Linked DNA regions of Homo sapiens: regions 1, 2, 3, 4, 5 and 6 are each linked to region 7. The links are contacts of gene promoters, found by promoter capture Hi-C in blood cells and fetal thymus (Javierre and others, 2016). All regions are on one chromosome and are shown on one strand. The core of a region is centred on a gene start or on the middle of the fragment in contact, and the rest is flanking DNA. Distances in the headings are between cores, read along the strand shown.

Region 1 (3,940 bases), core at 1,296-3,795, 650 kb after region 7:
GAAACGTCTGTTTTGTTTAATTAGTCTACTGTCCATGGATAATGTAGAAAAAGAAGGCAGCAAAAATGATAGAAGTGCTACAGACTGTTTCAAAAATGAGACTACTGATTTCTCACAGACCAAAAACATCTTTAAAATGTGAGGCAACCAGCTGCTGTTTAATGTCACTTATGACCCAACGATGTCATAGAAATGATAAGGGCTGGTGTTCATGCTGCATGCTCAGTGCACCAGGCATAAGAGAGTGTTTACTTTCTCATTACCTCAGTTCTGCTCCACCTCAAACTTTTTTGAACAATGTGGTTATCCATCGACAAAAGGCTGTTACACTATTTTGAAGATTATGCCTAAAAGTTGTCACCACACCAGCATATAGGTCATCATGACATCCCTAGATATTTCCGTTTGTGGGTTGCTTGCAGTAAAGTTGCTCACAGTTCTGACAATGGCATATTGCTAGAACCAATAATAATAAAATGAGCATAATTTTTAGAATCTGAGAGTTGAGATGGCTATAAAGACCTTGTTCAAAAAAAACCGAACTCTTTAACCAAACCTCAAAAAAGCTAAGCAAATACCTTCTGGGATGTCTCATAACATTAGCTAGAAGTAGAAGGAATCCAATCATCTCATAGGTTATGTTTTAAAGCTATCTAACTCCCCTCTTATATAAAGCAGTCCCAGAAAATTCCCTGTAAGACCATGATTTAACCTCCCCTAGAAAGGGTATCACAAGTTTCCAATATTTATATATATTATTTCACAATGCTCAGTCATCCTTGCTTGAATGTAGGAAGGACCAGTCAAGATAATATAAATCTGTCCTTGTAATGAACCCTAATTATTGAATAATCAACCTAATAACTGACTGTAATTACCTTAACTATATAGTGCATGGTTGTCTTTATGAAAAAAAAAAAAAAACAAGGTGACTCAACAGTCCTCATCATGTTTTTTTGTTTAATAAAGTTGCTTTGGTTGTAGAAAGGAGGAATTGAAGATTTTTGCAAATGGAGAGCAAAGGGAGACCATGACTCCCAAAAGAAATACAAGGTTAGAACCAGTCAAATAATTTATGAGCTCGCGGAAGAGATTTAAAAAAAAGAAAGGGAGGAAAGAGAGGGAAATGTTTACTGAGCACTTATTATGTACCTAGGCATCCTGCTGGATATTTAATACACATGTCAACACTATCCAAGAGTTTTCTGCAATGATGGAAATGTTCCATATTATTTTATTTGATTCTGCAAGAACCCTGTAAGGAAATGGAAGCTTGGAAAAAAGTGAAATAGCCATCCAAAGCCATCAGCAAGAAGCAGAGGTGGGATTCTAACTCAGGTCTGTTTCCAGTAGCCTCATAAATTTCACTACAGTGTAGTGCTGCCTAGCCCACCTCATATAAAAATGACACTTAGTATGAATAAAGATAATGCATTATACTTGCATCATTAACCACACATCACATACTTCATACACATTGTCTCATTTAATCCTCACAACTGTGTGGAGCAGGTATTTGTATTCTCAACTTACAGATAAGGAGACTGAGACCTAATCATTGTCTAAATCCTTTGGAACAGAATTGAGAAAAGTGAGTAGGTGCAATGGGGGGTGTGGGGAGCAACCTGCCCACCCTTCAGATGACCTGGAATTCTGGGTTCTGAGATTGAATAGGAAACTTCTTTGGCTTTGAATTTCACTCTTTTCTGGATTTTTACCTCTAACATTGTGTTTTCTCTACACTTGAAGAAAGAAACTCTTTAAAGTTGAGGTTGTCTATCTACCCCAACCTCCCTCATTTGAAGATGAGAAAACAGAGGTGCAAGGAGGTCCCACAATTACCTGGGGCTTATCCTTCCTGGACCTTGGTGAAATGCTCTGAGTGGATACAGTTCTCCCGTACCCTCACTTTAGGTATATTAAATATCACTCAAAAGGTTGATAACAAGTTGAGCTTAAAAATTAATTCAATCCTTTTGAAATCCAGAATTGGACACAGTCATAGGAGTATCATAAATAAAACACCTTGAATGATTCTCAATCGGACTATATTTGGCATTTTTGTTTACAGTCAAACATTCTGTTTTCCTCTCCCTAGTAGATCAAACATCCTGAAGCAACAATGCTGCAAGAATATGCCAACTTGCTTTTAAAAGAATGAACTGAGGGCCTTCAGGAGAATCTGGGTGATTAATTACAACACTCAGTAAAAAACCTATGCCTCATATATCGTTTCTCAACCCATCTTCATCCACTTATTACCATGAAGATTGTGTCAGAAATGATGGTTATATCATAATTCTGTACTAAGTAAGCCTGAATAATGGGAAATAGTTTTAAACGTGCTCTATATCAAGCACATTTCAGAATTCACATTTGTGTGCTATGAGAATGATAGCTGGGGGAATCAGACACTTGAGGTGGACTTTGCAATGGATAAATTACCAATTTAACCCAGAAAAGCTAAATAAGCCCATAGACAGTATTTTTGATTTTCTGATTCTCTGGATGTAGATTAACACCTCATAGTGTGTGTCAAATAGAAAACCTCAGTGCACAAGTAAGTAAGGGTTACCCCACAATGGCCCCCAGGCTCTTTGGGATAGAGCTACTTTTCATTTTGCAGGAGCTTACATAATGCAAAGAATAAGGGGTCTGGAGGGAGAAGTATTGGTAAGAATGCCCCTAAGCAGCACTGTGGAGAGGAGACAAGGAAATATCTAAAAGTGTCCTTCTTTATAGCAAGGGAAGGGGCCATAGTACCATTTGGAATCCCACAAGAGGAAAAAGAATGAGGCAGGAGCAGCCAGCCTGGCTATGTCCCACCATGAACAGCAAAAGTCTGAGCAGGCATCTCAGCATATAGAACCTGGGGATGTTCACAGTGTAGTCACTGAATCTATAAAAGTGCTAGATTTTTAAAAAGAAAGGTGTATTATTTACTTTTTTCTGAACAAATTCAGTTTCGACCAATTTTTCACTGTCTATAATATGCCGATAATATGCTATTTGACATTATTTGACATACTCTCTTCTAATTCTCATAACTCTTTGATGAAGTAACTATTGTTATTGCTATTTTATGGATGAATAAACTGAGACTCAGCCAAGCTCACTCAGCCAATCTCACCCAGCCAGTAAGCGCGGAGCAGGATCCCAGGCCCTGCTCTTTGAGTTCCAGACCCAGCATTCATGCCATCTCTAAATCCTGCTATTGTGCATTCATGATACCAAATTCCATGGGATCAGTGGAGCTTTAAATAGGACCAGACTTTTAAAAGGTGCCTTTGTACTGAAGTATAGCTTTGTCCTAAGAAAATGCTTTCTAAATAAAGGAATGAGCTATGTAAATATAATGGGAATTACCCAGGATTCTCTGACTCCAACTAAATTACAGAAACTTAGAGCTAAGACCTCTAAGGTCCTCTGTCTCTAGTACAGACTCCTTATTTGACAATGGATGAAACTGAGGCCTGGAGAGTAGAGTGATGCAGCCTGATGCATCCACATGGATGGTCAAGAACAGAGCCAGAACCAAAGAAAAGCTCTAAGTTTCTAGTCCAGCACAACACTTGGCGTAAAAGCATTATTACACTTTTGACAACGAGACATCTTCTACCCTAAAGACAGTGACATACATCAAATGTGTGCTATTTCTCTGACTATAACATACCTACAAGTGTTTACAAATCATAAATGTATACACACTTGCTCGAGTAAGTGCTTTCAATACTATTTTTCTTTTCAAAGTAAAAAAAAAATTATACGAACATCTAGTGAAAGTCTTTAACTGGAGGCTTTACCACTACTGAAGCTTCTTAAGCATTTTCCTTAGATGGTAAGGAATTATTTCAGTTAATATTTTAATAGCTACAATGAGCACATTCTCATCACAGAATAAGTTGCAATGACATAAACACACCTTCAAGTTACAGTCACT
Region 2 (3,993 bases), core at 275-2,774, 670 kb after region 7:
GAGTATTTTAAACAGAAGACTCTGTTATTTGCTCAGTGACAATAGCTGATTTAAGGCGAACTAGTTCATTTGCATCCCACCAAACTTTTGACCAGCATACTAGTCATTTTAACACTGACATGGACCTCTAATGAAAGTCCTGGTCTAATAACAATAGATGACATCAAAACTTTCAAGAGAAAAGCAAAGGTCTACCCTCTTCAGAGATGGTAAAGAGTAAAGCCATTGCACATGATGTTCACAGCTCTCCTCTCTGCTCCTTCCCAAGTGGGACCAAGCAGTGTAGCTCCAACCTGAAGTCAGGGCATCCCCTGCTCCTCACTTAAGCATGCTGGGATGCCCAAGGAAATTCTTTTTCTTCTCGTTGAGTTTCAATTCCTTTTGACTCTCTTTTAGTTCCTCATTCCAGGGACATTAACAATTTCTCTACAAATATTTATGCCTCCAATACCACACAAACCAACAGTTTCACTGAAAGGAGATCTCTTTTCAACATAGTTAAGCAATGTTCTCCCTCACCAAGAAACTATAAGTCATTTACAAATTAAGGTGATCATAATTATTACGTAGCTTCTAGTCATAATATTTAAAAGTCATTAAGAGTATAATTCATTTATTCTAGCCATGATTATTCACAATGCTATACTCTAAATGCTATACTTTTCTACAGCTTTTAATCAATAAATACTTTTCAGATTTTTGGTGTTTACATATCACCTGAAGTATTTTGTTGGTTATTTCCCTATGGTAACAACATTGGTTTTCCGAATGACTATAGGCCTACTTTCATTCCCATGTGTGACTCATTCCCATCTCATCTATTCTATTACAACATCTACGTGTCACCATCTCTCTGAAGAGAGTTAGAGAGTTTCTAAAATATACTGGAGGTGAGATCATGCAAAAAGGAAAAGACAGTGCTTCTCACATACCTAACGATCTGATGATCTAATCATACTCAGAAGTTTTACCTTGAACTTTGTGTGTGTGTGTAACTATTTCAGTACATGGGTTGTCCTACTCACCCAAACTTCCCATTGAAATTTAAATGGGAATTCATCTAATAAAATTATGAGTCATCTAATAGAAACTACAAGTCAATTTTTGCTAATTCCATGGTATGCATACGCAGCATAGCATGTATGCATTGACATACACACACATGTACCAGAAGTTTTTTAAATAACAACTATCCTTGACTGAGCTTTACATTCACAATCTCATTTAACATTTATCAAAACCTTGTGGCATATCATTATCTTTATTTTATGATTGGGGAAACTGAGGCTCAAATGGACTGCATTAACTTGCCTGTGGTCATACAGCTATAAAATGGTGGAAACAGAATTTGTACCCAGTATATTTACTCTTTGTGCCACACAAGTCAAAAGTGCTTGCTAGAGAGTTATGTAAAATCTGAATATGGGCAACACATTTTGATGAGCCCTTGCTGATGGCTTTTATCTAAGGTAAGAGCCCAGGTATGAGAAATCTGGATTTTCTATTTGAAAATCAGAACTCATATTTTTCAGAGGCAATTGGTAGTTTGACATCATTTACCTGGATCTTGTTCTGACAAGATCCATGAGTCAGAAATAGACACTCAGGACCAGAGGACAGGTTTTTATAACCAAAAGCTACCTTCTCATTAATCAAACCTCAAAGCATCCACTGCTTTCATACAGAGGTGTGTTCTTAACTTGTTTTAGCCTAAAACGAATCAGCATCAGGGACGATGATTGCTTCCCTGAGAGAGTTTAGCAAGTTCCAAACCTGGAGGACCTCAGACCCCAACCTGTCCAGTTAGACTCCACACTCACTCCTGTTTTCTATCAAAATTTTCTTTCCCCACACACTCACAGAATATGATAGGACAAGAAAGACAAAGACAGGGTAGTAATAATGGACAGGCCACAGATACACCCAATACCATCAACAGTCATCAGCTGAGAATATTTTATCCAGAGATTCATCACAAAAAAAATATTGTGAAAATGTTCATGTATCATCCCCAGCACCCTAGGAAGCAGTAGTTTCAGGTCACCACCCAGTCCCAAGCCTTATATGTCAGTGCTTCCGAAATCTTAATGTGCATACTTATCATATGGGGATCTTGTTAAAATGCAGATTCTGATCTAATTGTTCTGGGTTGAGGCCCAAGATTTTGGACATCTAACAAGCTCCCAGAGGATGCTAAGGCTGCTGATCCACGAGTCGCAAGATTATGGGTGATTTTGATCAATTAGCAATTCGATGCATTCCCCACAGTGAGTGTCGTGTCTATAAACCAGTCTCAATAGGTCCTCTATCAACTGAACAGGATAAACAACACAGCAGGAAAGGTGGCATCGTTAGAATCCCACTAGCACAGTCTTGCTCCAAGCAAGCTAAACCTGCAAGAGCACTAAGTCAGGCCTGGAAGGAAGATGTTTCTTAGGTTCTCACCAAGAACAGAAGACAGAATGAAGTCTAGAAATTAAGATCGATCACTTTGTCCCAAATTTTTCCTGGACTCCATGCGTAGTAAAAGCTATGAGAGGTTCACAAATCAGATTCACAGGAGAGGATGGAAAACACTTGTCCAGGATTGTCTATTGTGTTAGCTAACTAGCACTAAAAAATATACGTCTATATTTATGTATAAGTGAGTATTCACTTATAAAAATCTTTCTAAATTCTCTTCAAGGGCCATTTCTTTCTTCAGTGAACCAAATGATGGCTGAAGTTTTAAGAATAAAAACAACAGCCAGACGCAGTGGCTCATGCCTGTAATCCCAGCACTTTGGGAGGCCGAGGCGGGTGGATCACGAGGTCAGGAGATGGAGACCATCCAGGCTAACCCGGTGAAACCCCGTCTCTACTAAAAATACAAAAAATTAGCCAGGCATGGTGGCGGGTGCCTGTAGTCCCAGCTATTCGGGAGGCTGAGGCAGGAGAGTGGCGTGAACCCGGGAGGCGGAGCTTGCAGTGAGCCGAGATTGCGCCACTGCACTCCAGCCTGGGCGACAGAGAGAGACTCCATCTGAAAAAAAAAAAATAATAAAAAAAAATAAACAACAATAACTCTAACTGTGAAATTGCGTCCTATTCCATACTAAATTAAATCAGCTTAGACAGGCTGCTTTCATTTGTGTTATGGATGTCATTATTCTTTGTTTTCAAGAAATTTGTATTGGAATGAATGGAGTTGGAATAAAGAACCAGTGAAGAAGTGGTCATTAAATACCTGCTTCCTGCCTACTGCGGTGTGAGTCACTATTAGGAAGACAAAATAAGGAAGCTAGAACTTTAGGGAAGGAAATTACAATATACAAAAGAGTCCCTTTGCCCAACTGCAATTCCTGTCACCCATAATCATGGTAAATAATCCTAATAATTATTACCCTTGCTTGTATCATGATAAGGAAATTGATTTGAACTGGGAAACAGAAAACATGTCTCTTCAGTAAAGCTCTTTCCACCCTCCCACACTCAACAAAAGCTTCATAAAGCCACCCGTAACTCTTATGCCCCGTTCCACCGAGTCAACTCCTGTGACTGGCCTCACACCCTTCTCAAGTATCCAAGGCCTTCCCCGGTATGGTCTCAGCTTGTTTTTCCAGAGGGCGGCCGTCATTACCTGAATGGCAGGTTTGCTACGCAAGCGCCTTAATGTGGGGCTTTGTAGACATCACACCTGGGCCGTCATTAGTGTCGTCTGAAAATAATAATCAGCCAGCAGACCAAAGAAGGGCATTCCAAGAAAATTCACTACTACCAGTGTTTGGGGAAACCAGGGAATATCTAATTTACGTATTTATAGTTAATCAAAGAAAGGGCTAACTTACACACATCACACAAGGATAAGTCACCCCAACGTTTATTTATAACTACACCTGGCTACAGTGCTAAGAGTTGGGGGAGGCTGCGCACTTGTAGTTGGCAGCCCTGAGGAAGGAGGTAGCATCTCTAATCATTCCCAAATGGACAGGAGGCTGAGCCAGTGGTAGGAGA
Region 3 (3,824 bases), core at 1,119-3,618, 710 kb after region 7:
TGATTCACAGTTGAAATAGGCACTTGCCTATCCGCAGTTATTTTGTTGTTTTCTAATTGTCATTTTCATCAGCCAGACACAACAGCCAATTGTGGCAAATGTCCAGCTTTGCTGGCTAACATCACACATGACTTGATTCAGTACAACTTTTGTCAGAAAAGGTATTCTCACCTATTCTCATTGCCTTCTTTTCCAAAGTGAAAAGATTTCACTCATTTTTTTCTTAATTTTCTTCCAAGTCACGCTAGCTAGTAAGTTGCATTTAAAGATGTTAAGAATATTTAAAAGTGAATTCTTTTTCACCTACTGAGACACATTCCAGAATAGTCTGAAACTTTGACATGCAAATACCAGACTGTGAATCTGATTAATAAGAAACCTATGCAGATGGGTTTGTAACTGATTAGGCCTGACCACTGTTATATGGCAATGATGACACTGTGTTAAAAGAGGTAGGATTGTTATTCTTAATTTAGGATGGTCCTCTTTTAACTACCTGTTAAAAGAAGTAGAATTGTTATTTTTAGATCAGAAAAATGAAGATTTTTTCTTCCTCTTGCTTCTTTGGTCTGTCTCTAGTTTCTTCCAAGCAATCTTTCAAAGAAGTGAGTGAGAGCTACATACATGTGGACCAGATGGTGGAGTTCTACCTCCAGTTCTGCCAGCAGTTACTGTGTGAAAGTGAAGCATTAATCTTTGTATCTATCTATATTTCTGATATGAGCTAAGAACTAGAATGACATAATCCTATTTCTGACAGGTAAACAGATCCAGAGAGAAGTCTTTATCACACATTAGAATTATCATCAATGTATTTTTTCATTTTATATGAAATTGTCAGTGCAGAAGTGAAGCTATCAAACTCAGAGAGAGCCCCTAGAGGTGAGGTTAGGATGGAAATAACTATTTTTTCTGAGCTCTGGAGATTATTTCTACCCAGAGTTCTGAATCATCTAAAAAGGAGAATGACATGGAGTGATACAAAATCAAAACATGGCCAGTGACCTCCTCAGACACTCTGTTCTCATCCACATGCATCAGGATCAGCCTCAGGTACCTGATTAGACCCCCAAGTAACAATTCCAACTTAAAGCATTAGTAGTGATTTTTATTTTTGAATTCTCTTTCAAACATCTCTGTTTTCTCTCCCCTAGGCTCATTTCCAAGATTCCTCTCATCAGGGTATTATTTTATCATCTTCCTGTCTCCTACCACTTTCAAAATTCTCCCCTGCTTTCAAGAACCATTGATCTCTGGAGCCCAGAAGTCAATCTCACTCATACCCCTTAGGGTCCTTGTTTAACCCTCATCTCAAAAGCACAATACATAAAATGTAGGCAACCCAAAATTCTCTCAGTCACTCACAGGATTTTATAATGTTATCCAAAGTGAAAGATGTTACAGATCAAGGGATCAGCGAGTTGCAGAAAATGACAGGTCTGTCTTACGGGAAAAAACTCAGGTAGAAAACCCTGCAAAGACCAGGACAGAAACCAACCTGACATGAAAAGATGAGGGTATGATTTACTCAATAAAAATCTAAAGACTTGTAAAAACCACATAACTAATTTTCTCTATTTTGAACATTTCCTAAACTCTACAAAAATGGAAGATATAATTCTTTTGAACAGTTTGCCCTGGCTATAATCATTTTCCTCTCTGCCTCAACTTATGCAATCACTCTGCCAACAAGCCCAAGATTGTTTATTGTTTTTTACATCACCACTGCCTTATACATTAATGTGGCTGTCAAAGAAAATTATTTTCACTTCTAAAACCTCTAAAGCAGAGTCTTGATTATTTAACTTAGCCTCCCACTTAAAAAAAAAAAAGCCACTGAAGAAGAAATATTTCCCTTTTCAACTTCTGAAGTTGCTCCCCATTCATAACTGAATTCAGAATAAATATTGGTCAAAGCATACCAGTAAATTAGGGCACAGTCATTTTCAAATGAAATGAATTTCAAATGACACATTCAAACACATTAAGACTTAACTTCTTTCAAATGAAATCATTCAAGGAGTGCAGTGATAAAGTTCAGCGAAACACTAGGCTAGGACTCAGGATAAAAAATAAATTAGATGTAGTACCTACCTAACAAGCTTAGTCTAGGATAATATGTTATATGTATAGAAACATAAACAAATAATATATAAACATAATTTTTAGAGATTGAGCAATATTATTTAAATTTTACCATAGGCATTAGAGTTGGAAAGTGTACCTTTCAGCACAAAATCAATTCCAAGTTCAAAAATTCAACTTAATCATATTCCCGTATTATGTGATCAAATCACTGAGGTACAATTTTGAACTTGGCACATTTCTTTTGACATTTTATTTGCTTCTGTTTTCATTTCTATGGCAGTAAAATGGAATCTCTCTGTCTTGGGGGACACTTGGGAGTGAATAATAGTTAACAACCATAACATCAAGTTCTTGTGTGGGGAGTGCAAGTTTAACTTGTGCTTTATAAGATCTCTGGAGATGTAGTTACAGGTCAAAGCTAAAATGAAAACCGCATTTGCCTGTGTGTTTACAGAATTTCATGTGTCATGTTGTTGCTTATAAGCCATGAAAAGTCATTCTCTAGGTCTCAGCCCATACACTGAGAAATTCAAGGAGAAAGCTTAAAAGAAAAGAAAAAAAAAAGAGCACCTCCTGTTAGATGTGCAGGGCAGAAGCCTAGTGTCAGGTGTCATAGCTAGGGGATGTCAGAGTATCCTCTGCCCTTTTTATTGTCACCGCCAGCAGCAAGGTTGTGGTATCTATAGAAGGCACTGCAGGCCCGAATCCTATCTCTGCCTCCTCCCAGCTGCATGGGCGTAAATAAATCACTTAACATCTGGACTCTCAGATTGCTCATCTGTAAAATAGGATAAAAGTACCACCTGAAGCTGGGCGCCTTGAGGTGGCTCATGCCCGTAATCCCAGTGCTTTGGGAGGCCAAGGCAGAAGGATCACTTGAGGCCTAAAGTTCAAGACCAGCTTACGCGATATAACAAGACTCCATCTCTACAAAAAAATTAAAAAAAAAAAAATAGCCAGTGTTGTGGTGCCCACCTGTAGTCCTAGCTACTTGGGAGGCTGAGGCAGGAGGATTGCTTAAGCTCAGGAGTTCAAGGTTTCAGAGAGCTATGATCACACCACTGCACTCCAGCCGGAGTGAGGGCAACCAAGCAAGACCTTGTTTCAAACAAACAAACAAATAAAACCAGTACCACTTTAAGAGCTTGCCGTGAAGGTTAAAAAATAATGTCTGTAATTCAGCTGGCCCAGTGTCCAAAAAGTAGTAAGTACATAATAACTGATAATTCAAACAAGACCAGCTCAGTCAAAATGCTTATAATATAGATTTAAGGAATCCTTGGTAAAAACCTCCATATGGGGCTAAAATCACTGGCATTTCCACTGACCAGATTTTCATTCTCTCAAGAAATTAAACAAATGGATCATGGCTTCTCTCAAGCTGAGACTGCCTTAGGTTGCTACATTCTTTCCACATCTATAGCAAATGTGTGATTTCTGCAAATCTCTTGCTTAAACCCCCTTTATTTAGAAATCCCACTTGCTTGCTCTTTGTGACGAGTTTAGGTTGGGGAGAAATATGTCCCTTCACATTTGTCCCTTATGTAATAATATAAAAGGAAGTTGTAATTGGATTTCACCACGGGTTCATCATTTGTGTCCCTGGGAAAGTGGCTTTTTTTTTTTTTTTTAATAAAAAGTCAAAACAGTCCTTCCATTTGCCAGAATTGATCCCAGGTATTCCTTATGGAGGTTTGCCATGGGCTTCAGGTGTGACCCCTCGGCATCTGTCCCCT
Region 4 (3,939 bases), core at 1,256-3,755, 620 kb after region 7:
AACTAAAATATCTCAGTATAATTTAAATTTACATTTCTCTTTTCATGAGTGACATTGAGCATTTTTTCTTATTTTAAGTGCCTTTTGTATTTTCCTTTTGGTCACTGTCTAGAGTGTAATTGTAATATTGTTTCCCAGTTTGTCATCTTGTCTTCTGGTTTTACAGGTTGTATTTTTCACCCAAGCACAAGTTCAAACACTGTTATTTTATGGAGTCAAATCTAACAGTTTTTTACGGCTTCTTAATTTTGAGTCATCATTGGAAAAGTCTTCTGACTCCAAATTTATAAAATAATTATCCTTTTGGGCATATTTATTATTTATTTTTCATATCTCAATCTTTGATCTACTTGTAATTCGTCCCACTGTAAAGGATGAAGTATGGTTTCAACATTCCCTGCCCCCACACCAAAGGGAATACAAAATTGTCCCCAAAGTACATATAATACATATAACGGTCTACCTTTTCCCCATGGCTTTTATTTTGTATTTTATTTTATTTTATTAAAAATGAAATCGCACTGTGTTGCCCACCTGAACTTGAACTCCTGGGTTCAAGTAATTCTTCTGCCTCAGCCTCCTACAGAATGGGAGAAAATTTTTGCAATCTGTCCATCTGACAAAGGGCTAATATACAGAATCTACAAGGAACTTAAACAAATTTACAAGAAAAAACAAACAACCCCATCAAAAAAATGGGCTAAGGATATAGAAAGACACTTCTCAAAAGAAGACATTTATGTGGCCAACAAACATATGAAAAAAGCTCATCATCACTGGTCACTAGAGAAATGCAAATCAAACCACAATGAGATACCATCTCACACCAGTTAGAATGACAATCATTAAAAAGTCAGGAAACAACAGATGCTGGAGAGGATGGAGAGAAATTGGAACACTTTTACACAGTTGGTGGGAGTGTAAATTAGTTCAACCAATGCAGAAGACAGTGTGGCAATTTCTTAAGGATCAAGAACCATAAATACAGTTTGACCCAGCAATCCTATTACTTGATACATACCCAAAGGATTATAAATCATTCTACTATAAAGACACATGCACATGTATGTTTATTGCAGCACTATTCACAATAGCAAAGACATGGAACCAACCCAAATGCCCATCAATGATGGACTGGATAAAGAAAATGTGGCACATATACACCATGGAATACTATACAGCCATAATAAAGGATTAGTTCATGTCCTTTGCAGGGACATGAATAAAGCTGGAAACCATCATTCTCAGCAAACTCACACAGGAACAGAAAACCAAACACTGCATGTTCTCACTCATAAGTGGGAGTTGAACAATGAGCACACATGGACACAGGGAGGGGAACATCACACCGGGGACTGTGAGGGGGTGAGGGGCTAGGGGTGGGATAGCATTAGGAGAAATACCTAATGTAGATGACAGGTTGATGGGTACAGCAAACCACCATGGCACTTGTATACCTATGTAGCAAACCTGCACGTTCTGCACATGTATCCCAGAACTCAAAGTACAAAAAATCTCATAATTCAAGAAAAAAAAAAAAGGATGAAAAGGGGCCACTAGCTGAGGATGTGGACAGCCTGTAGAAGCTGGAAAAGGCAAGAAAATGATGTTCCCCTAGAGCCTCCATAAAGGATTAGCAGCAAGTAACTTTCTGAAGAAAATGCTGAGTAAGTATTCCTCAGAAAGAAAACACACCCCTTTCAATGAATCCTATTTAAACATCCAGTATAAACCAACACTGTGATACATTTTTATCTAATGTAATACCACAAGCAAACACCAAGCACTAAAAATGTTATAAAATGTGGACTTTGGAAAACCAAAAGAGAGCTAGTCTCTTTTCCAAGAAATTTCTTATTAGCAATCAAACCCTACCTTTTCCCCATGGCTTTTATTTTATTTCATATTTTATTTATATTTTATTTTATGTTATTACATTTTATGGAAAGCTAAAACATAAATCTAGCAATTATCTTTAAAACAAGACTTTTAAAAGACTAACATTTTAATTCATACTCACATTGTCCTGACACTGAAAATGGGGAAACCATTTGGGCAGAACAAACTAAAATATTGACTTCTGATTTCTAAGTTTACCAATAATTATTAAACATTAATAGTTTCCCTTTTCTAGAGAAGAAAGGAAAAGAAGGATGAACTCATTCCTGGTTAAGCTCAGTGCCAAGTGGAGAGGTCAACAAGAATGTAATGAACTTAGTATACTCACACCTGCTTAATAATGGATGCTGTTAGGACAGTTCCTTTTGAAGACATAATTTGAAGCTCTGGGTCCAATAGACAAGTAGTAGTTATGATGGGTAATAACTTACTAACAGCCTAAATGCACATGTTTATGAGACAAATAACTCTTCTTAAGCAAGTAAAAAGCAGACTAATAAGATGTTCCTACAGGATTTGATATAAACCTGAGAAAGGAAAACATCCCACCTGTGTGACACCACGTAGAAGAGAGGCTATATAAGCACTTCAAAGAGGAAAACACCAAGAGCCTTGGAATTCAGACTCTGTGGAGGTGGCTTGAGCTTTTCATCCTGGTGACCACAGACCTGGAACAAACTAAAGCCAGACACATACTATGGACACCAAGGGCTGTACAACAACCAATTCTCCTTCAACCCCATGTCAAAACTGCTCTAGGATTACAAATGTTAGTACCATCTCTTCTAACAACGGCTGCCATCCTGGTGGCCTTACAGTCAACAACTGTCAACCAGCTGGCCACGTTCTCAGAATTCCCTGGGACCAGGGCTGCCAACCCACTCCTCGCTTTTGTCGCAAGCCCATCTACCTAATGAACAACTTCAATGCCCGTTTTTCTCTGGATGACTGCAGCTGGTATGGTGAAGGCATCAACAGTAATGAGAAGGAGACCATGCAAATCTTGAACGAGCGCCTTGCTAACTACCTGCAAAAGGTGCGAATGCTAGAACGAGAGAATGCTGAACTGGAATCTAAAATCCAGGAAGAAAGTAACAAAGAGCTCCCTGTTCTATGTCCTGATTACCTGTCTTACTACACTACCATTGAGGAGCTCCAGCAGAAGGTAAGATTCCTAAGAACCTGTTTAATCGTGTTGTGAATTAATGGTTTCCAAGCAACAGTTATTTGCTAAACTTTAATATTTTTTGTTCAGTTGATGCTGAAAATTTTTTTGAAGAATAGAAAAATTTCTTGAGTGAAATTGTCATCTTGAGGCAGCATTCAGAGTCTGATAGTATTTCTGGTCAGGCGCAGTGATGCACACCTGTAATCCTAACACTTTGGGAGGCTGAGGCAGACAGATCACTTGAGCCCAGGAGTTCTAGACCATCCTGGGCAACATGATGAAATTCCATCCTTACACACACACACACACACACACACATACACACACAAAAAAAAATTAGATGGGCGTGGTGGCACATGCCTGTGGTCCCAGCTACTTGGGAGGCTGAGGTGGGAGGATCACTTGAGCCCAAGAGGTTGAGGCTGCCATGAGCCAAGATCCTGCCACTGCACTCCAGCCCAGACAAAAGTGAGACTATGTCTTTAAAAATCAGAAACAAAAAGAAGAGTCTCATGGTGTTTCCTTTCTCCAGAAATACACTCTACCATTATAACTAGATGACTCAGGACCAAAAGATGTTAACAGCAAGTTGTTGCCATTTTTTAAATAAAAATAGGGAAACAGAGATCAGAGAAAATAAATTTTGCTTTAATGAGTTTCTAAGCAATTTAGTTTTTATCCATTTTTCAACCATCACCACCTTTTTCTCCTTTTATGCTTATGTTATCATCTCCACATTGCTTGGTTTGTTTCTACACCAAACCTAAGTTTGTTATGCACAGACGTATTCTGCTACTACATATCTGGATTTATTCAGTTTTATTCATTCAACAAATGTTTACTGAGCAGCAACAACATTGGGCCAAACATTG
Region 5 (3,835 bases), core at 1,310-3,809, 640 kb after region 7:
TTAAGTTCAGTGGGGAAAGGAGACTAGGATGAAATCTCAGAACAAGCACCCTTTTAAAGGTATTAGAAAAACCTAGAAAAGAACTTTGGCCACCTTTGTTTAAAAAGCAGAATCATGTACTGATTAATAACACATACTTGAATCTAGACCAGCTGGGTCTCTGATTCCCAGCCCTGCCACATACCATGAGATCTTGGGCAAGTTACTTAATCTCTCTATTTCCTCATCTTTAAAATGGGGCTATTAATAGCATCTACTTCATAGGGCTGAGATGACATCATTAATTAATGCATGCAAAGCTCCTAGAGCATGCCTGGCACCCAGTAACCTTGTTAGTAGGATTGCATTATACTGCTTCGTGAAGCTTACTTCAGTTGGCAAAACAATCACATGAGAGCTAATGAATTATTTCACTTGAGCCAAATGACAATGGCATAGTCATGCAAAGCCATTCTGATAACTAATGAAAGTGCTATATTAAGGATAGAACCTTTCTTTTTAAAAGAAAGCTGAGTCACACCTGACCCAAAGTAAAAACCACATAAAGGTCCAACTCTTCTGTTTTCCAGAATGTTAGGGAGCTCAGTTGTAAAGGACCTCTCCATCATGTATCAACCTTCACAATCTTTGCGGCCAGTAGGAAGAAGATAGCCCTGGAGGAGAAGGGAGAACAGTTTGAAGTCATCCCTGTAACAGGATCACTTTTGTGGACAACTGAAATGACAGGGCAATTCAGAGAGGACTGATGGCCCTTCTCCTAGTACAATATCTGTTACCCTTGTCTCTTGTGGCCCTGATGTTTCCTGGAGTCAGGTTATGGTGTCAATGGAGAAAACAGCTGGAAGGCTTCTCCACCGCCAACACATAATAAAAGTAATCACAGATGCACAGAAGCCACAGTGTCTCCTAGGGCCAAAAAGTAGAAAGAGTAATGCTTCTTTCATTCAATTAAAAACTGATTAAATATTATGCCTCTAGACATTGTGCTACATGCTTTACATGAATTATCTCACTCAATTCTCACAATGGCCCTACCATACTATGGTTATTACCACATTACTAACAAGTGAACTAAGGCTTACAGAAGTTAAGTAATTTGCTCAGTGTCACAGCTAGTAAATGTTAAAGTCAAAATCTGAACAAACTCAAATCCTCTATTCCAAATGCCCAATCAATTAAATAATTACTCAAGTTTGAAAATGTCATACATGTAGCCTAATGAAAGCTATAAAGAATTAAAGAAATAATGCTTGTCTTGGAGGTCTAAAGAAGGTGAGCCATATCCCTGGTGGTTCAAGTGGTTAAGAAAATATTTTAAAAAGAGAAAGTGAGCCCTAAAAACACAACACAACAGTGTCCAGCCCAATCCAGGAAGGGGCAACACTGAACTCATGAACACCATCTAAGCACGTGTGGACTTGAGGCAGTTTTTCAACCTCATTCCTCAAGACCCCATATCCCTCTTCTAGTTCCATTTTTGACAAAAGCCTTCATATTACAATTTGGTTTCTCTAATTCTTAGGTACAACAAAGAAGGTGCATTGATTTGCAGTTGGGAACTCTGTGGTTGCAAAATGGATCATCTTTCAATGTTAAATTAATAAGTTTGCATTCTGTCTCTTTCATCTGGCACTTAAAAGTCAGGTTACTCTGAGTCAGCTCCTGAGAATCCCTTTGGTTCTGGTGCACTAATAACCCACCAGCCTAAGAACAGACATAGACCACTGTGACTTCACAAGAAAGTATCACCTTGTGAAGTTCTGCTTTGGAGACCAGATGACCTAACTCAACAGCATCTTCATCTCTTCTCATTCTAACCACAACAATTAGGCTGTTGGATTTGTGTGAAGTTTATTGCTAGAAGATTGGCACAGTATAGCCCTGCTCTACTAGATATAAAGCCAAGAGGTCTTGAATGGAGAAGCATTGGGAAAGTGTAGGTCTCATTTCTAACTAGTTCATATTCATGGCGAGCATAGGCTCAAAACAATGAATGCCGGATATTCATGTTTCCAACAATTTGTGGCTTCATCAGCAATTGTGGGCTGCCAAAGCTGCAGGGGACTTCCTGGTTTTGACCCATCCCAAGAGTAACAGGACACAAGGCTGATAGGATGAAATATCCAAAGTCCACCCCCAGGATTCCATTTTTTTTCTTTTTTTTTTTTTGAGACAGAGTTTTGCTCGTGTTGCCCAGGCTGGAGTGCAATGGCACGATCTCGGCTCACCGCAACCTCCACCTCCTGGGTTCAAGTGATTCTCCTGCCTTGGCCTCCCAAGTAGCTAGGATTACAGGCATGCGCCACCATGCCCAGACAATTGTGGTTTTTTTTTTTTTTTTTAGTAGAGACAGAGTTTCTCCACGTTGGTCAGGCTGGTCTCGAACTCCTGACCTCAGATGATCCACCTGCCTTGGCCTCCCAAAGTGCTGGGATTACAGGTGTGAGCAACCACACCCACTGCCCCCCCCCACCCCCACAGGGTCCCTTTTAAGAAAGGCTACAAATTATAATTAGAGGGATGGTAATCAGAAATGAAATCAAACGTGTTGGGTTCAGAAAAAAACAGAAGATGCTATATTAGTGTATTCAGGAGAGGCACTGGGAGAAATAGACAAAATAAGAAAGAGAAAGGAGCAAAATGGATATGTTTTTGTGGCTGCAGAGTAAGAAGAACCAAGAGGTCATTTGGAGCTCACTTACATGGAACAGAATGTACAGTGGGACTAAGATTGCAGGGACCGTGTCCAGCGTCCCAGTTACAGCACCGTCTCTTTGTAGTAATGACACAAAGACTATGTAGTAAATAATAATTAAGGATGAAAGACGAGCTGTGGACAAAGGGTGAGATCAGGAGGGAAATAGGCTTTGGTTGTAAATAAAAGACACATATTCACATTTGCCCTAATGATGGTTCCCACGTGCCGTGGATCTTCAGGAACAGCCTTCCTTTTATGTAATTTTATGCTTCTCCGTAAAAATTATTTGTAAAATGTTTAATTAAATGTGATTTAAATTCTATAATTTTCTGAGGTATATCATATATATTAATTTGAAAATTTAAAAATCCACCTATAATTTGCCTTTTTAGGGTTTATGAAATATAGTAACTATAACCATCTTTGCTGTTACGCTAATAATTAAAGATCTAGACTAAGTATGTGTATGGAAAATATGTTTTATAAATCACATGGAAAACACATTCTATTCACCTTGATTTAATCTTTGTAGGAGATTGGTCAGAGTGGTGGGAGAAACTATAGGGAAAGGATGCAAACCTTCTGAAAGTTCAGAAGGCTCTGCATAGCTTCAGGGGAGAATAAGCTGAAGGCAGCTGTTCTCTGATCCTGAGGCAGAGGGCAAGGAGTAGGTACAAGGAGGTGTAGGGGAATTTATCGTAAACAGGCTTGTTTACTTAGGTTGTCCAGAAACCGACCTTTGATAATCTGTGCACATGACTGCTCCCTGAAAAGGGGAACAATAATGTTAATTACCCGCAGATTGTGTTTGCTCCAGGCTTTCGGCATTATGTCTGTACTGAATAAAAGCAAGCAGCTTCAGCTGTTCGCAGCTGCTCTCTTCTTTGGCCCTAAGTGCCGGCAGACCCCTAGCTGCTCTTACACTGCACGCCTGTGTTGTCAGTACTCCCTTCATCCGACGCTCGGCCAGGGTCTGCAGGACAGACCTGGCAAATCTTCAGCAAAAATCCATCACCAGAGTTCCTACTGGATGTTTCCCCCACAAACACACAGACACTACGATGTTCTACTGCCACTGTAACAAAGTGACATGCATTTCATGGCTCAAAATAACACAAAACACGAATGTACTATCTT
Region 6 (3,860 bases), core at 1,182-3,681, 690 kb after region 7:
TACCAACCACGTTAAAATGTGAGCGGTCTTTATTTGGAGTTCTCTGACTCTTTCAGAGTTAAGACACGAAGAGATGGAATGAATGTGACCTTTATAGCCTCCTTTCCTCCCTTCTCTACTCAGTGGTTCCTTTCCAGCCCACCTCTGCTCATTTCCCTGCCTCAGGGCCTTTCACATGCCGGTGCTTCCCATCCAAGCCCAGATCACACCTCCAGGAAAGGTCTGGGGGTGAGTAAGTGCCCTGCTCTTCCCCACCTGCTCTAGGACTCCAGATCCTAGGGAGAGGTTGCACATCTTGCTCTGAAAGCCACCCCTCTAGAAAGCCTTCCTGGCTTCTTCAGCTTTCAGCCTCACCTCCTCCTGATTTTTCACAGCACTTTCTAAGGACTTTTGCTTCCTCCTTTCATACATGCCCTTGTTAGCATTTCCTCTGCCAGACCACAAGCTCCTCCAGAGCAGTGTCTGACCACCCAGGAGGCACTCAGCAAATCATAAATAGTTTAATTTGCCCAGATACGTTTCTGTTTTTAAAAACCAGTTGTCAAAACTTCATTTCATCTTTTGCCAACTGCCTGACTCAGAAGACGTTGATGTTCGTTTGTTTGTTTGTTTGTGTCTGTTTGTTTGTTTGGAGACAGTGTCTTGCTCTGTTGCTCAGGCTGGAGTGCAGTGACGTGATCACCGCTCACTGCAGCCTCAATTTGCCAGGCTCAAGGGATCCTCTCACCTCAGCCTTGCGAGTAAATGGGATCACAGGCGCGCACTACCATGCCTGGCTAAATTCTGTATTTTTTGTAAAGATGGGGTTTCACCATGTTGCCCAGGCTGGTTTTGAACTCCTGGGCTCAAGCAATCCGCTCACCTCAGCCTCCCGAAGTGCTGGGATTACAGGTGTGAGCCACCACGCCCAGCCCAGAAGATGTTAATCTTTACAGGCAGTTTTCCTAAAACCTGTTTATTAATACAACTCTTCCTTGCAAAATTAGGTGTTGGGAAAAGCGTTCTTTCCCTCTCTCTTTCCATCCCTCCATTTCAAGCTCAATCCTGTACTCTGCAACAAATTTTCAATATGAAGCTTCTCTTTTAACCAGTCGGATGCTTTGTATGGTTTGTTTTTCCCTTTTTACTTAAGTGTGTGCACATTAAAAAGTAATGAAATACCCCACCGAGCAGAAATGTGAACACATCTGCCGTTTGCATTCTGAAAAACGAATTAATAATACATCTCTTCATCTAGTCTGATGCATCCATATACATCGTGCCTTGCTCTAGGAGCATTCTGGAGCCAATGATCGCCGCCGTATCTTAGAGCACCTGTTTCAATTTTGTGTGATTAGTAGCACGGGAAGGACCATATTGAAAGAGGAGGTCTCTAGCCCCAGGTAGAAACAAAAATGTATTGAGTATAGACCTTATATTCACCTTTTAAGCAGTAATTTCGTTGATGAGAGTTTTGTTTATACATCAGGATGTTGTTGCCAAGACAGTTTTCCTGGGTCATGCAAAAGCACTAAAAATCAATTTGCAGAGCAAATATTATGTAGCTTAATCTCAACTTTCTATATTTGTACCGTTGCTATAGGCAAGTCATTAATCTGCATATGCCTCAGCTTTTCATTTGTAAAATGAGGATGGCCTACATGACTTTCAAGGGCTCTTTCAGATATGATAGCCTATATGGTTCTTTGTATTTAGAAACAAGCCTCATGAAAAATAAAAACACATGGTGAGTGATTTGTCACTTGCTTACTTGTTTTCAAAAATAGTAAGTTTGGGTTGTCCAAGTAACATAAAAGCATATCAGAAAATTAAATCACTGATGATTTCTCCCTTAGAACATAGTCTAAAAAAGTTCAATGCTAATTGGTTATTACCATTTAGTTAGCTAACAATATTATAGCCTATAGCTAGGCAATATTTTCTAGAGCTTTCACAAGCACCATAAATTCTACAGTCTTCAGTTATCACAATGAATGAAACGCTCAATGATGTGATAATGCAGCAGTTTAGAGAGAAGAAGCCTCCAGGCAGCAGCAAGGGCTATGCAAGATGGCAGCCTCTCCCAGGAGATGCTGTTTCCTGTGGTCTGTCTGTGCAGATTTGACTCTGGAGTTTTGGAAGACTGAGTGAACTAGAATCATGGTGGTAATTTATATATGAGGGATAAACATAAGAATCATCAAGACTGGCACCGGGCATGGTGGCTCACACTTGTAATACCAGCACTTTGGGAGGCCGAGGTAGGTGGATCACCTGAGGTCAGGAGTTCGAGACTGACCAACATGGTGAAACCCCATCTCTACTAAAAAATACAAAAATTAGGCCAGGCGTGGTGGCTCACACCTGTAATCCCAGCACTTTGGGAGGCGGAGCTGGGCAGATCACCTGAGGTCAGGAGTTTGAGACCAGCCTGACCACCATGGAGAAACCCCGTCTCTACTAAATATACAAAAAATTAGCCGGGTATGGTGGCACATACCTGTAATCCCAGCTACTCAGGAGGCTGAGGTAGGAGAATCGCTTGAACCTGGGAGGCAGAGGTTGCAGTGAGCCGAGATTGCACCATTGCACTCCAGCCTGGGCAACAAGAGCAAAACTCCATCTCAAAAAAAATATATATATATATAAAACTTAGATGGGCATGGTGGCAGGTGCCTGTAATCCCAGCTACTTGGGAAGCTGAGGCAGAAGAATCGCTTGAATCCAGGAGGCGGAGGTTGCAGTGGGCCAAGATCATGCCATTGCACTCTGGCCTGGGCAACAGCGCAAGATTCTGTCTCAAAAAAAAAAAAATCAATAATACTGGAGAAAACCTTTCCTACGTACCTTATCAGTACCTTATTATGCACTCCCAGCCTGGTCTCCAAATCAGAATACTCAACAGTCTTCCTCTTCATCCAGGTCTCCTCCACCTAAATCTGACACAAGTGCTACAAACTTGGCATTTCCACAAACACACCATGTTTCCCTTTGCAATGAGATTCTGTCATTTGCAACAACATGGATGGAACTGGAGGTCATTATGTTAAGTAAACCATCTCCCAAACCATCTCCCAGTCCTGTCCCAGTGTCCCCCTTGCCATGGGGTACCACTATCACCACCCAGTCATTCTCATCTCATCCTATTCCCCATGTCCCACACCCACTCATTCCACAAAGGAATCAGGGCCAAAGCCCATGCACACACTATACCCAAGAAAGAGAGACATGCACAGGAGAGATGAACGGGGTGACCAACTGTCCTGGGACTGACTGTCCCAGTTTTAACTCTGAAAGTCTCACATTGCAGAAAGCTCTGTGTCCTGGGCAAACCAGGACAGTTGGTCATCCTGGAGGGAAGGAATTTGAGAGCACAGGGATGGCTTCCTGGAAGAGATGACATGCAGAAGAAGAGAAGGGGATGGAGTATACAGAAGCATGGAATGGAGGAATCAGTGGTGTGTGTTACTGGAGTGTGCCATCTGAGGCATGGAGGGGTGACCAGGGGGTCTAAAAAGGTAGGCAGGAGCTAGATCTTTGAGAGCTGTATATTGGACTTGACTACATACTGTTGTCAGTTTTTTACAGAAGTGAAATAATCAGATTTGCATTTTTAGGTAGGTGTTTGAGACTGGACCTCAACGTTCATGAACTAATGATGGCTAGAAACAGGTGCTAATATTATTTTTAAATTGTCAGTAACTTCTTTACTATGATTCTAGAGGTAGGAACTAGAATTAGTCTTGGTGACAAATTATTCTTCTGTTTTGGGAGGAATTCAGTTGGGCTCTCTCTTAGTCAAGCTTGTGTAAAATAAGTACTCACTTGTCCTTGGCATAACACTGGACATGGGCAAAATAACACGGATACGGAGCCAATTG
Region 7 (4,137 bases), core at 877-3,376:
ATTGACTGATCTGTCATTGGTTCCCTGCCATCTTTATCTTTTGGATTCCCCTCGGAGGAGGGGGAGGAAGGAGTTTCTTTTGGGTTTTATTGAATGAAATGAAAGGGAAAGTAGAGCTGTTCCTATGTCCCGGGCTCCGGAGCTTCTATTCCTGATCCCTGCATAAGAAGGAGACATGGTGGTGGTGGTGGTGGGTGGGGGTGGTGGGGCACAGAGGAAGCCGGTACTGGGCTCTGCACCCCATTCCCGCTCCCAGATCCCTCTGGACACAGCATTTTTCTCCAGTGAGCACAGCCTCCCCTTGCCCCACAGCCAACAGCAACATGCCTCCCAACAAAAGCATCTGTCCCTCAGCCAAAACCCCTGTTGCCTCTCTCTGGGGAAATTGTAGGGCTGGGCCAGGGTGGGGGGACCATTCTCTGCAGGGAGATTAGGAGTGTCTGTCAGGGGCGGGTGGAGCGGGGTGGGGCCCTGGCTTACTCACATCCTTGAGAGTCCTTTGCTGGCAGATTTGGGGAGCCCACAGCTCAGATGTCTGTCTCAGCATTGTCTTCCAAGCTCCTAGGCCACAGTAGTGGGGGGCTCCCTTCTCTGGCTTCTTCTTTGGTGACAGTCAAGGTGGGGTTGGGGGTGACAGAGGGTCCTGCTTCTCTTCTAGGAGCAGTTGATCCCAGGAAGAGCATTGGAGCCTCCAGCAGGGGCTGTTGGGGCCTGTCTGAGGAGATAGGATGCGTCAGGCAGCCCCAGACACGATCACATTCCTCTCAACATGCCTGCCGGGGTCTGTGGAGCCTAGGGGCTGATGGGAGGGTGGGGTGGGGGCCGGAAGGGTTTGCTTTGGGAGGTTGTCTGGGAGATTGCTGAAGTTTTGATATACACACCTCCAAAGCAGGACCAAGTGGACTCCTAGAAATGTCCCCTGACCCTTGGGGCTTCAGGAGTCAGGGACCCTCGTGTCCACCTCAGCCTTGCCCTTGGCACAGCCCAGCTCCACTCCAGCCTCTACTCCTCCCCAGAACATCTCCTGGGCCAGTTCCACAAGGGGCTCAAACGAGGGCGCCTGAGCTGCCCACACTAGGGATGTTCTGGGGGTCTGAGAAGATATCTGGGGCTGGAAGAATAAAAGGCCCCCCTAGGCCTGTTCCTGGATGCAGCTCCAGCCACTTTGGGGCTAAGCCTGGGCTATAACAATGCCAACGAGGCTTCTTGCCATACTCGGTTTACAAAACCCTTTCACATACATTGTCGCATTGGATTCTCAGAGCTGACTGCACTAAGCAGAATAGATGGTATGACTCCCACTTTGCAGATGAGAACACTGAGGCTCAGAGAAGTGCCAAGCCCTGGGTCACAGAGGCGTAAATGGCAGAGCCAGGACCCACCTGACTCCAGGCTGTTTCCTGGCCTCCATGAGGCCACCTGCCCTATGGTGTGGTGGATGTGAGATCCTCACCATAGGGAGGAGATTAGGGTCTGTGCTCAGGGCTGGGGAGAGCTGCCTGGATTTCTCTTTGATGGGGATGTTGGGGTGGGAACCACGATACACCTGACTAGCTGGGTGTATTTCAGGGATGGGACAGACTTCTCAGCACAGCATGGGAGGTCAGGCCTGGGAGGGCCCCCCAGACCTCCTTGTCTCTAATAGAGGGTCATGGTGAGGGAGGCCTGTCTGTGCCCAAGGTGACCTTGCCATGCCGGTGCTTTCCAGCCGGGTATCCATCCCCTGCAGCAGCAGGCTTCCTCTACGTGGATGTTAAAGGCCCATTCAGTTCATGGAGAGCTAGCAGGTAACTAGGTTTAAGGTGCAGAGGCCCTGCTCTCTGTCACCCTGGCTAAGCCCAGTGCGCGGGTTCCTGAGGGCTGGGACTCCCAGGGTCCGATGGGAAAGTGTAGCCTGCAGGCCCACACCTCCCCCTGTGAATCACGCCTGGCGGGACAAGAAAGCCCAAAACACTCCAAACAATGAGTTTCCAGTAAAATATGACAGACATGATGAGGCGGATGAGAGGAGGGACCTGGCTGGGAGTTGGCGCTAGCCTGTGGGTGATGAAAGCCAAGGGGAATGGAAAGTGCCAGACCCGCCCCCTACCCACGAGTATAAAGCACTCGCATCCCTTTCCAATTTACCCGAGCACCTTCTCTTCACTCAGCCAACTGCTCGCTCGCTCACCTCCCTCCTCTGCACCATGACCACCTGCAGCCGCCAGTTCACCTCCTCCAGCTCCATGAAGGGCTCCTGCGGCATCGGGGGCGGCATCGGGGGCGGCTCCAGCCGCATCTCCTCCGTCCTGGCCGGAGGGTCCTGCCGCGCCCCCAGCACCTACGGGGGCGGCCTGTCTGTCTCATCCTCCCGCTTCTCCTCTGGGGGAGCCTGCGGGCTGGGGGGCGGCTATGGCGGTGGCTTCAGCAGCAGCAGCAGCAGCTTTGGTAGTGGCTTTGGGGGAGGATATGGTGGTGGCCTTGGTGCTGGCTTGGGTGGTGGCTTTGGTGGTGGCTTTGCTGGTGGTGATGGGCTTCTGGTGGGCAGTGAGAAGGTGACCATGCAGAACCTCAATGACCGCCTGGCCTCCTACCTGGACAAGGTGCGTGCTCTGGAGGAGGCCAACGCCGACCTGGAAGTGAAGATCCGTGACTGGTACCAGAGGCAGCGGCCTGCTGAGATCAAAGACTACAGTCCCTACTTCAAGACCATTGAGGACCTGAGGAACAAGGTGGGTGAATGGGCAGCAGAAGGCACCATTCCAGCTAGCTCCTTCTGGGAACAATTCATGCCCCAGGCCCCTGAGACCTTAAGATTTCTCTATAGGACAGAGTCCACCCCAGATCCCTTCTTTCGAGGTCTTGGATGCCCTAAGACTGATCAGTGAGAAGATGCTTTCCCTTCCCCAGCCTCCTCATCCCCTTCTGATCTCAAATCCTCAGACCATGTGAGATCAGTGATTCCTATCCTTACATTTTTTAGAGGAAGCAGTTGAAGCTTCGAGAGGTGCTGTGACCAGCTGCAGGTCACATAGCAAATTAATGGCAGAGCCAAGGCTGGGGCCCTTGTGCCCTACCTTCCAGCACAGGAGGCAGCTACTTGTTCTCCAGCACAGGGGAGGAGTGAGGCTCTAACGGGACCAGGCAAGACATCCAAACCACTCATTAGCTCACTAGTCTGGGCTGTGGCTGCCGCCGCCCATAAGCCTTGGTACAGGCTGGTCCCTCCCCACAGCCAGGCGGGCATGGAGAGCCTGCAGAGACAATTAGTGTGGTCCCTTGATGTGCCCTGCACAGAGAGAGCCTGGCAGGCTTGTGCCCTGACTCTAGCCCCCTCCTCCCTGCTCCCACATTACTTGGGAGCCCTCCCTGCTGGAGTCTGTTGGGCTCTAATGACTTGCATGGATTAGGGAAATTCAATGATGAGGTGGGGAAATCCAACCAGACTCAGGGGCCAATATATCTTCTTATTCTTCCCCTGAGTCCTCTTTTCTAATCCCCTGTGTTAGTTGGGTTTTATCTCTTGAGAAAGTTCCACTTGAAGTCCCATGGCCTGTGAGCTTGAAAAGGAATGTGCATATCTGCAGAGGACTGGCAGGGCTGGCTGATGCAGACAGAAGAGAGGTCAGCTCAGGAAGGAGGGCTAGGGAGCCTCAGATTATTCTCCTCACCTGGAGGTGGGGAACTTGAAGCCCCAAGACCCATTAGGTTTTGCAGCAAGACACTGGCAGAATTGGGACCAGAACTCCTGGGCTTTCGATTCTAAGCCCGGGGCTGCATCTACCCCCTCTGTTGACCATGAGTTAGCAAAGTCTTAGGACAGGCCTGGGGCATCTGTTTTCCTTTGGGCTGCTATGGTCAAGTTTTGTGGGGGAAAAGGGGGATTCAGGCAAGAACATGAAGCAAGAGCTTAATGTAGGCTACAGTGAAGTCCAGCTTGTGAAGTCCATTTGACAAATTACCTGTGCCTTTTCCATCCTGCAGATTCTCACAGCCACAGTGGACAATGCCAATGTCCTTCTGCAGATTGACAATGCCCGTCTGGCCGCGGATGACTTCCGCACCAAGTGAGTTTGAAATGGTGGGCCAGAACATCCAGTGTCCCCAGAGTAGGGCATTTTTGGAGCAGTGTTTCCCAAATAGAACTAGCCAGTACCA

What was found. Contacts are between HindIII fragments. The CHiCAGO score rates a contact against its expected background, and 5 or more counts as called.
Region 1: a contact is called between a fragment that was not itself captured here and the fragment with the promoter of KRT14 in region 7, in 7 of 17 cell types (naive CD8 T cells, activated CD4 T cells, total CD4 T cells and 4 more). The highest score is 13.8, in naive CD8 T cells.
Region 2: a contact is called between a fragment that was not itself captured here and the fragment with the promoter of KRT14 in region 7, in 5 of 17 cell types (total CD4 T cells, naive CD8 T cells, activated CD4 T cells and 2 more). The highest score is 9.7, in total CD4 T cells.
Region 3: a contact is called between a fragment that was not itself captured here and the fragment with the promoter of KRT14 in region 7, in 13 of 17 cell types (activated CD4 T cells, M0 macrophages, non-activated CD4 T cells and 10 more). The highest score is 14.5, in activated CD4 T cells.
Region 4: a contact is called between the fragment with the promoter of KRT39 here and the fragment with the promoter of KRT14 in region 7, in 6 of 17 cell types (naive CD8 T cells, total CD8 T cells, total CD4 T cells and 3 more). The highest score is 11.1, in naive CD8 T cells.
Region 5: a fragment that was not itself captured here is called in contact with the fragment with the promoter of KRT14 in region 7 in 6 of 17 cell types (non-activated CD4 T cells, activated CD4 T cells, naive CD4 T cells and 3 more); the score reaches 9.5 in non-activated CD4 T cells.
Region 6: a contact is called between a fragment that was not itself captured here and the fragment with the promoter of KRT14 in region 7, in 13 of 17 cell types (naive CD8 T cells, total CD4 T cells, naive CD4 T cells and 10 more). The highest score is 15.4, in naive CD8 T cells.

Annotation. Positions count from the first base shown.
Region 1 is chr17:40,932,096-40,936,035 of GRCh38, reverse strand. The region is part of intron 2 of KRT23 (keratin 23); the gene reads left to right. All of the region lies in intron 1 of LOC107985072 (a long non-coding RNA gene), which reads right to left. Among named protein-coding and RNA genes, the nearest start is that of KRT23, 3.6 kb to the left of the region's middle. The HindIII fragment of the contact is 2,542 bases long and covers 1,275-3,816 here.
Region 2 is chr17:40,912,286-40,916,278 of GRCh38, reverse strand. All of the region lies in intron 1 of LOC105371777 (a long non-coding RNA gene), which reads right to left. Among named protein-coding and RNA genes, the nearest start is that of KRT23, 23 kb to the left of the region's middle. The HindIII fragment of the contact is 3,918 bases long and covers 1-3,483 here.
Region 3 is chr17:40,870,519-40,874,342 of GRCh38, reverse strand. The region is part of intron 1 of LOC105371777 (a long non-coding RNA gene); the gene reads right to left. Among named protein-coding and RNA genes, the nearest start is that of KRT12, 5.2 kb to the right of the region's middle. The HindIII fragment of the contact is 527 bases long and covers 2,105-2,631 here.
Region 4 is chr17:40,965,514-40,969,452 of GRCh38, reverse strand. It overlaps KRT39 (keratin 39), which reads left to right and starts at 2,505. Exons shown (of 7, transcript NM_213656.4): 1 at 2,505-3,064. The coding sequence starts at 2,597. All of the region lies in intron 1 of LOC107985072 (a long non-coding RNA gene), which reads right to left. The HindIII fragment of the contact is 5,044 bases long and covers 1-3,939 here.
Region 5 is chr17:40,949,285-40,953,119 of GRCh38, reverse strand. The region is part of intron 1 of LOC107985072 (a long non-coding RNA gene); the gene reads right to left. Among named protein-coding and RNA genes, the nearest start is that of KRT23, 14 kb to the right of the region's middle. The HindIII fragment of the contact is 4,385 bases long and covers 367-3,835 here.
Region 6 is chr17:40,892,111-40,895,970 of GRCh38, reverse strand. The region is part of intron 1 of LOC105371777 (a long non-coding RNA gene); the gene reads right to left. Among named protein-coding and RNA genes, the nearest start is that of KRT20, 8.8 kb to the right of the region's middle. The HindIII fragment of the contact is 2,707 bases long and covers 1,078-3,784 here.
Region 7 is chr17:41,584,884-41,589,020 of GRCh38, reverse strand. KRT14 (keratin 14) reads left to right here and starts at 2,126. Exons shown (of 8, transcript NM_000526.5): 1 at 2,126-2,711; 2 at 3,964-4,046. The coding sequence starts at 2,187. LOC124904003 (a long non-coding RNA gene) reads right to left here and starts at 674. Exons shown (of 2, transcript XR_007065755.1): 1 at 485-674; 2 at 70-158. RefSeq lists an enhancer at 3,223-3,724. The HindIII fragment of the contact is 10,096 bases long and covers 1-2,979 here.